Linked DNA regions of Homo sapiens: all the other regions are linked to region 4. Evidence: promoter capture Hi-C in human tissues and cell types (Jung and others, 2019). All regions are on one chromosome and are shown on one strand. The core of a region is centred on a gene start or on the middle of the fragment in contact, and the rest is flanking DNA. Distances in the headings are between cores, read along the strand shown. Region 1 has its middle 41 kb from the start of IREB2. Region 2 holds the start of HYKK (hydroxylysine kinase). Region 3 overlaps PSMA4 (proteasome 20S subunit alpha 4). Region 4 holds the start of ADAMTS7 (ADAM metallopeptidase with thrombospondin type 1 motif 7).

What was found. Contacts are between HindIII fragments. The study calls those that stand out against the background at their distance.
Region 1: a contact is called between a fragment that was not itself captured here and the fragment with the promoter of ADAMTS7 in region 4, in 2 of the 25 tissues and cell types used here (H1 embryonic stem cells and liver).
Region 2: the fragment with the promoter of HYKK here is called in contact with the fragment with the promoter of ADAMTS7 in region 4 in 2 of the 25 tissues and cell types used here (liver and mesendoderm cells).
Region 3: a contact is called between a fragment that was not itself captured here and the fragment with the promoter of ADAMTS7 in region 4, in 1 of the 25 tissues and cell types used here (aorta).

Annotation. Positions count from the first base shown.
Region 1 is chr15:78,396,234-78,398,933 of GRCh38, reverse strand. No RefSeq gene overlaps it. Among named protein-coding and RNA genes, the nearest start is that of IREB2, 41 kb to the left of the region's middle. The HindIII fragment of the contact is 7,261 bases long and covers 1-2,700 here.
Region 2 is chr15:78,506,163-78,508,862 of GRCh38, reverse strand. It overlaps HYKK (hydroxylysine kinase), which reads right to left and starts at 1,286. Exons shown (of 5, transcript NM_001013619.4): 1 at 1,192-1,286. The HindIII fragment of the contact is 18,918 bases long and covers 1-2,700 here.
Region 3 is chr15:78,542,863-78,545,562 of GRCh38, reverse strand. PSMA4 (proteasome 20S subunit alpha 4) reads right to left here. Exons shown (of 9, transcript NM_002789.6): 5 at 1,296-1,373; 6 at 606-694. Among named protein-coding and RNA genes, the nearest start is that of PSMA4, 3.8 kb to the right of the region's middle. The HindIII fragment of the contact is 5,249 bases long and covers 1-2,700 here.
Region 4 is chr15:78,810,014-78,812,713 of GRCh38, reverse strand. ADAMTS7 (ADAM metallopeptidase with thrombospondin type 1 motif 7) reads left to right here and starts at 1,250. Exons shown (of 24, transcript NM_014272.5): 1 at 1,250-1,593. The coding sequence starts at 1,494. RefSeq lists a silencer at 803-1,222. The HindIII fragment of the contact is 14,119 bases long and covers 1-2,700 here.

The DNA.
Region 1 (2,700 bases), core at 19-2,518, 410 kb after region 4:
CCTTCCTAGTAGAACTGTTGAGAGGATTAAATGAAAAAAGTACATACAAGGTACTTAGCTCAGAGCCCGGCGCTTGGTAAACCCTCGCTAAATATTAATTAGCAGCTATTATTAGGGGGAAAGGAAAAGCTAGTCTGGTAGAATCACAAGCACCAGGAAGCCATCAGGGAGGTGGGGAAAAAGGGCGGTTCTTTCTGGAGTCAGGAAGGTAAAGCCATTCTTATCCGGCCTTGGAGCCTTGGAGGCAAGGTCCCCTCCTGTCAGTCGTCAATGTTGCCCACTGGTTTCCCTGGAAAGAATGAGAATCCTGGGTCATTCTGGGCAGCGGTGACAGGTCCAGCCTCCTATCTCTGCAGCTTTGTCTTCTCAGGAGCGTCACTTGCTTACAGCCACCCTCGGCTGCTTCTTCTTAAATCATCTCCACATCACAATCACAGAGGGTTGGGAGCCCGCCTGCATCTCAGGGGCTCCAGCTGTCTCCCATGGAATACGAATAGCACTGTCGGGCTGTTGGTCTTGTTGCCTTTGCAATCTGCTTTCTGCACAATGTCTAGGTTGAGCACATTTGCAGGCTCAGTGAAGCCATTATTTTTCTTGGTGACATTTTCTGGCAGCAGTCTAAATTCGTGAAGAGCTGAGGACAGCCTTTGCCTATGCCTGGAACTGGGTGGCCTACTTCCCCATTGCCATCTGTGTCTATTTGTCCCTGGACTTAGACACAGACTCATTCACACCCAGACCAAAGAATCCCAGGTCAGTGGAGCTCAGGTGTAGCTCTTGTCAAATTAAAAGGTACGTGGGATGCCCCAGGGATCCTGTTAAACTGCAGACTCAGTAGGTCTGGGGCCAGGCCTGAGAGTCTGCATTTGTAACAAACTCTCAGCGCCATTTCATCTGATGGTGCTGGTCCATGGACCAACCACACTGAGTAGCCTAGTGGTTCTCAAGCTTCATCCTGCATCAGAATGACCCTCAGGTCTTATTAAAACACAGATTGCTGGGCCTTTCCCAGTCTGATTTTGAAGGCCTAGGGTAGATTCCAATATTTTGCATTTCTAAGAAGTTCTCAGGTGATACTAATGCCGCTACTCTAGGGACTACACTTTGAGAACAATTGTTTTAGTTTCCCGACCTTTCCATTACCTTTATTATTATTCCTTGAGTTCTGTGACTTTCTTCGAGTTCTCTAGTCCTGACCACTTGCCACAGTTCAGTCCTGCTGAGTACCTCCAGTCTGTCATATCTATAACTGACAATGCCCCAACTTGGCCAATGACACCTTTGTGTTCCTTTTGGCCTCTGTCTTGAACCTGTTGCCCTGGCTTGCTTCACACTCTGCAAACTTGCCAGCCTCATTTTCTCACCCACAGCTTCTCCGGGTCCTTTCAGCCTGAGCCCTAACATGGTATCTCCAGCCTTGGTCTTTGTATCACTGCTCTGCCAACCCCAGACTTCCTGCCCTGGCTGGCCTGGGTGAGGGGTTCACTCCTGCCCTAGGCACCCCCCTCTTTTTCTGGCTCCTCTAGGGGCACCAGGCAGCTGTCAGGGCCCTGGCATGCAAGGCTGTGCCCAAGGGAAGCGGACATCATGGAGCTAATTAAACCAACGTGGACCCAAGTGCCTGGAATTCAGGAGGCTGTCCTCTCCCACCCACCCCAACAGAGCCCCGCAGACGCTGGAGTGAGTTAGTTTGACCTTCTGGATTGATGCAGTTAATGAGATGGTTGTGTAATGCTTTGTTTAACAGAACTGGTTTCTGGGCCCGGCCCAAAGCTAGGCTGGACTCTGGCTGGCTTCCATGCCCCAGCCCTGCTTGCTCCCTTGAGGCTCCCTCTGGCCAGTGCCCTCTAGGGGCCGGGGCTGATATGTTTATTGCTAACTACTCCGAACTCGTCTGCCTCCTCTGAGGAACCCGGGGACAATTCCTCTGACCTTTCCCTGCAAGCTCCATCTCTGTGAAACTTGGTCTCACAAGCTAGCCTTTCTTGCTTGGAGAATCTGTGTTTGAAGTCAGAGCAGAAAAAAACAGGCTTTTCAGGGCCCTGCTTGTGGCAAGTAAGTGACAGCTCGAGGGCCTGGTAGCCATACCTCTGTGACTAATAATCTTTGGCCTCAAAGATGCAATTTCCTTTCTCTTCCTTGCTATAGCTCCCAAAGTTCTTTCTCACCTATATGACAGCTCTTGCTTCAACTATTCTAGGTCGTCCTCCCGGAGTCTAGCACACGGGAAGGCCAAAGGCTTGGTATCAGACTGGCCTGGGTTTGAATCACAACTCCATCACTTTCTAGCTGTGTGACCCTGGGCAAGTGATTTAACCTCTCTGAGCCACAGTTGCCTCATCTGTAAAATAAGGAACACAGTCCCCATCACCTCACTCCTAGGGACAGTCCAGGGAGAAAGTGAGAGGATGTGGTGAAGCACCCAGCACAGTGTCCAGTACGCAGGGGTCTTACTGGTTACCCCCATCCAACCCCAGCACCCTCCAAGGGGCTGGGCTTCACACGGCTCAGCTCTTCAGACAATAAATGAGTGATTTGGGCCGGGCACAGTAGTTCACACCTGTAATTCCAGCAGTTTGAGGGGCCAAGGCAGGTGGATCACTTGAGGTCGGGAGTTCGAGACCAGGCTGGCCAACATGACGAAACCCCATCTCCACTAAAAATGCAAAAATTAGCCAGGTGTGGTGGTGCATGCCTGCA
Region 2 (2,700 bases), core at 37-2,536, 300 kb after region 4:
TATGTTGCCCAGGCTGGTCTCGAACTTCTGGGCTCAAGCAATCCTCCTACCTTGGTCTCCCAAAGTGCTGGGATTACAGGTGCAAGCCATCATGGCTGTCTTTTTGATTTTATTATTTTTATTTTTTTAGAGACAGTGTCTCGCTATGTTGCCCACTCACACATTTTTAAAAATTATTAACTTTTTTTCCTACTTCATTGAAAGGGAGAGGAGGAATTCAGGTACTATAGGCTGTTGGTCTATATATCCGGCCAACAGTATTTAGCTCCTGAAAAAGCCCGCAGGAAGCAAGTGTGATTTCCAACTCCAAGATCTGCGTCAGAATCTCACCACCTTTGTCCTGCAGCCGGGAGGGGGCTGGAACTTAAGCTCTGTACTTTGTGCAAAGTATACCAGACAAGAAACAGGAGTCATTCTTGATTCTTTCCTGTCCCTCACTCCCAACGTGTAACAAAGTCTAGTAAATTCTACCTTAGCATGTCTTCCAACTCTACCTTTCTTCTCCTACATTCCCTTTTGCTGCGTCCTTCCAAGGGATTATACCCAGTCAATCTCTGTATTCTCAGCCCCTAGGCTAGTCCCTTATTTAATATTAAATGGTGAACCAAGGGTGACCTTCATTCCACAGACTCACGGGGCAGTTCAACCCCAAGGGGATCATGAAACAGAAAGGTGGGGAATCTAGCATCTGCAGTTTTTCAAAGACAACAGTGCATTACTAGGTGCTTTTAAGGGTCTTCCTGGTGGGTGAAGGGGAAAAAGTGGTGGGTGAGCGGGCTGCAGAGGGGCTGCTGAACCAAGAGGCAGGAAAAGAGAGGAGGAGGGCGCATGAGTAAGTGAGGTTCAGCGGAGCTCAGAGACTGCTCCCAGTAGACACCGGCCAGGCGCCGGCACAGCCCTCGGCCAGCGACCCCACACAGACCCGGGAGGGCTGGCCTCGACAGCTTCTCGGGTGCCACGCTTTCATTCTGGGGGCCCAGCTCAGCCCTCCTAGGTTACAGGTGAGGTCCGGGAAGAAGGGTGACTTGCCCATCACGCACGCAGCGAGCTGAGGATAGCGCGGGCTGGAGGAGCCTGAGGCATAGGACTCCCGGCTCCACACTTGCAGCGAGCCTCCCTGCCCTCGGGGGCGACCCCGACTCCCGCAGCGGGGACGCAGGGCTCGTCTCTGCTTCCCCCTCCTTGGCTCACCGGCAGCGACCCGACGTCCTGGGGTGGATCCCGCTTTCCCGCAGACAGGTAGTGCGGCCTCGGCCGCGCACCGGCGCTAGGAGGTAGAGCAGGGGCCGCAGCGCCCGCGCCCCTCCTCCAAGCCCCGCGAGTCCTGACTTCTGATTGGCTCCTCCCGGTCCCTCGCCGCCCAGTCAGCGCAGACTACTGGATTTTTTTCCCGGCCCCGCCTAGGAGGCTGCGAACAGAAATTCAGAGATTCGGCTTCTGTTGACTTTCTGCAACTCCGCCCAGCCTTCTCACAGTGAGTATCCCAGTCAGAATCCGGCTACCTTTTCATGAACCGGACTCCTTATTCCTGATTGGCTCTCCGGGTTGCCGCCCCACCCCGAGTGGGCAGGCTTTCGGCTCTTGAGTGGCACCTCCGAGTTTCGCAGGGTCCACGTTGTCGTGGCGGTAACACTGACAGCTCCTCACCCGCATCCACGTTTTTGTTTCCTAGCCTTCATTCCTTCTGTTGGAGGCACGTATCCTGGAAGTGATACGCTTAGAAAGCGTGGCCCCAGAGAGACTCGCAATCCCAGCCCCAGGAACTGTAAGGGTCCTGATTGGAAGGCCTGAGTAAGGCCTGGCTGCGTTCCGCAGGAGGATGCTGGAATGTTAGAACCCGAACAGTTTAGGCAGGGCGCAGATGGCTCACGCCTGTAATCCCAGAAATTTGGGAGACCGAGGCGGGAGGATCACCTGAGGTCAGGAGTTCGAGACCAGCCTGGCCAACATGGTGAAACCCCTCTCTACTAAAAATACAAAAATTAGACTCAGGGGGTATGTCTGCAGCTGCAGAAAGATGTATGGGAACAGACACACAACTCTCCCTCCGAGATAAGCACAACAAAGAGACACAGAAGCAGTCCAAGCCTCTGATAAACTCTCCCACTCCGAATCCTTAAAAACTTACTTAGTCTGTAAGAGAGTGTGCCTCTGACCTAACTTGGCCAGACGCCCCTCTCAGGTTTTCTCTAAAATAAACCTCTTATGACCACCAAGCCACTTTTCGTGTTTCTTTCCTCTTTCTTTAATTCTTACACCGAGTAGTTGGGATTACAGGGGCCCACCACCACGCCTTTATCTAGGTAGTGGAATCAGTGGGCTCTCTTTCTGCAGGAAAGTCCGCAGAGACCCCATGATTTTCAGAAAGCTGCACGAGATTCATGGAGTAACAGCCAGGTTAGTTGGATGGTCTTAACTGTTAAGGGCATGAGGCGCTGATAAACAGCTTGATGCCCTTCTCCAGCCAAGCAGGACTTCTCCGATAAGTCAGAGCCCTCTATCTACTGTAGGCTACTGGAAGAGAGTCCTGGGTACTGGTCCACTCATGCCTGCAAATTGGTTTCTTATTTTGTTTTTGCCAATGCACATCCACCCTTTGTTTTCTGTCAGGATATAACACACTCGGATTATCTATAGTCACCCTGATTAACTTGGATGATTCCCAGACCCCTATCAACCACCTACTGAGGGAAGCTTCTT
Region 3 (2,700 bases), core at 105-2,604, 270 kb after region 4:
TGAAGGTAGCTAAACCCTACTCTGTGAACTTAAGCATTCATAAACTGTTTTGTATTCTGGCTACCATAGATAAGCTCCATTACAAATTCGACTTTTGTTTCTACGATTTGGACACAGCCAGAAGAGGGAACAGACAAAGGACCAGTGCTGAATTTCATTATTATGTAAACAGCAGTTAGTTTCCAGATTTGAAAATGTTGTTTTGGACTTTCAATATCCTATTAATAAAACGAGGGTAATCTACATGGTGGAGGAACACGTTCATTCATGAAGCAAGAATGTATGAAATTCTAGTGTTCTATACTACTGTAGGATTAATATAGTTAACCATAACATATTAGTTTCAAATAGCTAGAAGGATATGGAAGGCTCCCAACACAAGTGTTTGAGATGATGAATGTGCCATTTACCCTGATCTGATCATTATGTGCACTGAAACATCATTATGTACCTCATGAATATGTACAATTCTTATTTGCCAATTAAAAAAATTAAATTTAATTTAAAACAAAGGGTCTATTTTCAATTTTTTACTACCTCAAAAGGGTTATAACTCATAAAATGTCTTAACTTTTTCGAATAAAATTTTCAAAAAAATTAAATACCTCCAAATTGTGTATAAGCTTGTTTGATATCACACAGCGCTGTAACCAACTGCTCACAAGGTATTGGCTCCTGATACTGTAATAAATACCTAGGATAAAGAGATGGGCACATTAGTAGTTTTCTCTAAAACACAGACAGACTCTAAGGAAAATATTCTCTGAAAAGCAATCTATGCCATGGGGACAACCTAACAGTCATTTGTAATTTGAAGGGGAGGGAACAAGTCAACATCTGAATATTCTCATAGTAAATAATATTTTGTAAGTTTGGTTGAAAAAAATCTGTAATTTTCAATTCAAAGATTTTTAATGACTTTAATCTTTGCAAAAGTGAGCTCTCCTTAGAAACATCAAAACTAGGCCAGGTGCAGTGGCTAATGCCTGTAATCCCAGCACTTTGGGAGGCCAAGGCAGGCGGATCACGAGGTCAGGAAATCGAGACCATCCTGGCTAACACAGTGAAACCCCGTCTCTACTAAAAATACAAAAATTAACCCGGTGTGGTGGTCAGCTACTTGGGAGGCTGAGGCAGGAGAATCGCTTGAACCCGGGAGGCGGAGGTTGCAGTGAGCCAAGATCGTGCCACTGCACTCCAGCCTGGGTGACAGAGTGAGACTCTGTCTCAAAAAAAAAAAAAAGAAACATCAAAACTAATTTCTGTATCATCAGTTATGCTATTTATGACCATACCTTTGAGCAATGAGCCTTAGTTCATTAGTCAGAACATTAGCATCAGAAGTTATGCCTGCCACACTGCAAGCCATGTCCCTTGAAGAAAAAAAGACATTGATCTGTAAGCAGGGAAGATGCTTGCAAGGAGTGTTTATAAGTATTTAAAAAATTCTAATTTCTATTAGAAATTCACTATGTTTGCTTCACAACAGCTACTTCCTTCAGAAAAAACCTACAAGTTTTATCTTTGTAGGAGATGTTTACTCGATGTCACTCAACATGAAAGATAAACAAATGCACCCTTTAAGTTATTTAATAGATGTATTTATCATTACCACCTATGAATAGGATAACAAAATTAACGCCAAGAAGCTAATGTAATCTCAAGAAGATTCAGCAACAAAGAATAAAAAGACAGGCTTGCCACAATGGCTCACGCCTGTAATCCCAGCACTTTGGGAGGCCGAGGTAGATGGAGGGCTTGAGCCCAGGAGATCAAGAACAGCCTGGGCAATACGGCAAAATCCCATCTCAACAAAATATACAAAAACTAACTGGGTGTGGTGGTGCGCACCTATAGTCCCAGCTACTTGGGCGGCTGAGGTGGGAGGATCACTTGAGCCCAGGAGGCAGAAGCTGCAGTGAGCCAAGATGGCGTCACCGTACTCCAGCCTGGGTGACAGAGCAAGAATCTGTCTCAAAAAAAAAAAAAAAAAAAAGATTTTGCTAGACAGACTGCTCTTGAGTAATATTCATTTCCTAAGGCCTGGCTTGACAGAGGTGACAGGGGACAATGGCAGGAGGGTTTACAAGCCTGCTTAGGAAGTACAGGGCTAGGCTCCTACTAGAGGTGCATTTCATTTTTTTGGGCCCACTTCCTGAGGGCTGCCCTGGCTCTCTTATAGCTGAGACTCGCCCTGTGACTACGCCTAGCCAAGCCTGCCAGCTGTTGAGTGGTCCCAACAGAGGCTCTGTGGAGGGGTGACACCACTTTGGACAAGTTTATCAAAAGGCCCTGATAATCAGCATTTACCAAGCCCACCACCACTGAAAGGAAAGTCTCTACTTAGCACGGTCAGCTCTCCATGAGCTGCAAAGTTCTGCACACTCAAATATAACAAACATTTCACACAGTGTACAAGGCTTGGCTAAATTCTTCGAGACCTCTAAGAGGCTTGTTCTTTAGTAAGATTCAGTGTAATTCAACAAAATCCTGCGTAGCTATTCTAAACAATACTTTGAGGGCCTACTAAATGCCAGATACTATACTATTTTATTTCATTCATTTTATTTCATTAAACTGCCACAACCACTTTAGGAGGCTCTGAGGCCCAAAGAAATTAAATAATCGGTGCAAGGTCACATAGCCTGCATGGGTGAAGCCTGGAGTTGAACCCAAATCTGTGTGACTACTAAGTCTGTA
Region 4 (2,700 bases), core at 1-2,500:
GAAGTAGGTGAAGCCAGGAGGGGCTGGTAGGTTGGGCGAAGAGGAAGGTATCAAGGGACTGGAGGAAGAGCAATACATAGTGGGACTGTGAAGGTGGAAAGGACTGCAGAGTCGGGTCTGACAGGGGGGCACCTGAGCTTCGGATTTCCAAGATGGAGCAGTTCTGAGGGATGACACAGCCCAGGCTTTGGCCCTGAGACCTGATGGCTGAGGTGGAGTGGAAGGTCACTGGAGATGAGATGGAGGAAGTAGGTGACCCTGTACTACACAAATTCCCTAGAGGACAGACAGGTTGAGGGTGGAGAGGAAGCCAGAAGTGAGCTTCCAGGAATTGAATGAAAGGGCCCAGGAGATTGGACAATGAGGAGGTGTGCGGGCCTCAGAGGGCAGGGGGCACACAAAGACTAACCAAGGGGAGGAAGCTGACCGCAACCGCCCCGAGGACAAGACGGGCGTCCTCGGTACAGGGCCATGTTTAGTGACGGCAGAAGGGAGAAAGGAAGCTCCTGGGAGCACAGGGGGAAGGGGAGCCGGAAGCCAGAGCCAGGGCTGGGGCCACGAAGGACAGACGGCCGGTGTTGGAGGCGGAGGCTGGCCTGGGATGTGAGGCTGGGGTTGGCCGGCCTCCAGGCTCCCCGGGAGCCCCTGCTGAAAGTCTGTGGGCGCTGGCCTGGGCGAAGCCGCGGTCCCCCGCCTGTGGGCTCAACTCTGCGCTCTGCTTCAAGCAAACGCACTAGGAGAGGAGTCAGGAGACGAGGAACTGCGGGGCCCCACCTCGCGCGGGCAACCGCTGTCTGTCCAGGGAGGGCCCAGGCCTGTCTCCGCAGATAGCTTTGAAGCAGGGCCCCCGGTGTGGCCCTCTGGAGGCCTCCCGCGTCCCCTTTTGAGGGGCTGCCCTGCTTGGCCTGGGGAACACAGCGAAGGGCACCTCGTGGAGCCCAATTTAGGGACAACACATTAATTCTGGAAATTCCAGATTCTTTCCGGGGGTCCTCAACCGGCCGGGGTCGGAAAGGCCTGGCAGGGCTCCGCCGGCAGGGGGCGCTCGGGACAGGGGGGCGAGGGGGGCGGACATCCGTTGCGGGGCGCTGCCTGCGCCGGGCCGGCCAGCCCTTGAGGCGAGCACGGCCTGCGGGGCCGATGAGGCCGGGGCCGGCCGGGGCGGGGCGGGGCCAGGGGCGGGGGAAGGAGTCCGAGGGGCGGGGCGGGGGCCGGCAGCCGCCCTCCCTCACTCTCCCTCCCTTTCTTTCTTTCTTTCTTTCTCTCCTTCTAGCTCTCTTGTCTTTTCTTTGCCTCTGCAGCGGCCAAGGGGGCGGGCCCTGCAGCCTTTGTTGCCCGCGGACCGAGCGCAGCCGAACGGAGTCGGGGCCGGGTCGCCGGGAGCTGCACGCCGGCCGGGCATGTCCTGAGCCGGACCTGGGACCAGGCAGCGACCGGACGGGACGGACGAGAGCGTGCGCGCGGGGTCACCCGGCGGCCGCCCGGTTCCTGCCATGCCCGGCGGCCCCAGTCCCCGCAGCCCCGCGCCTTTGCTGCGCCCCCTCCTCCTGCTCCTCTGCGCTCTGGCTCCCGGCGCCCCCGGACCCGCACCAGGTGGGTGTCCGCCCCTCCCCGGCCAGCCGGGCCTGCCACCCCTTCCCGCTCCCCCAGTCTCGGTTTTGTCCCTCCTCACCTTTGTGGACCCCGCGCCGGCTCCGCTGTGCCTGGAGTTGGTCGCGTCTTCCGCTCCCTGGGTATTAGGGGACAGTAGTCGGGGTCGGGCCGGGCCGGGAGCGAAGCCGCGCTTCTGGGGAAACTTCCTCGGCCCCTGATTCAGTTACTGACACTGCCTGTCGCCTGGAATAAGCCCCTTCCGCTCTTCGGGCTCCGGTTTCCCCACCTCGGGTGCAGCAACGCGCCTGGCTCCCGGGAGAGCTCTCGTCCGAGTGGGCTGGACGGAGCGCGGTTTACCCACTGAGGATTTGGTTTCTCACACTCCTTAGCGAGGCTCGCCTGGAAAGCGGGCTGGCCGGGACACAGCCGGCGAGGGCGCCAGGTCGCAGGTCTTCGCGGGACCCCGCCGCCCCCCCAGCTCCCGCCCACCGCATCTGGGCTGCTGGCGCGGCCCCTGGCGGCTCGGGGGGCCGGGTCTTGCGCGGTCCTTGCACTTCCTGCCTCTCCCTTCCCCAAGTGTGAAGACGCCGGGAGTGGAGCGGGGAGCAGGAGCTTCTTTTCCCGGCCATGGGTTAACTCTCCCCGCCCCGCCGGGCCGGCCTCCGACGAGCCTCTGGCCTGCGTCCAGACTCTTGTTTGGCGGCGACCTGCCGGGCGGCCGCGCTGCTGGCGCGTCCGACGCAGCCGGCCTGGGAATTCAGTAACCGAGGATGTAGGAGACCCCAGGCCCGGTGCTCAGGGAGCTCCCAGTCAGGGGAGCCGGTGGATAGTGGGGAGAGTCCTGCAATAGAGCCGACCGGCAGGCTTTGTAGGAGAGGAGGGGCATGAGGTTGGAGAGACTGGAAGGATGGATGGATTCTGGATGAGCTAGAAGGGCGTGGAGGGAGTGGGGCCCTCCCCTGGGGAGCATCAGTCGGGGGACTGGATTAGGGTTGCTTGCTGGGATGGGGTCGACCTGCCTCCCCACTGGAGGGATTGTGACGAGAAAGTAGTCTGGGCGGGAAGGATGGGGACATTGACTCTTGATCTTAGAGGTTTGGGAAGCCG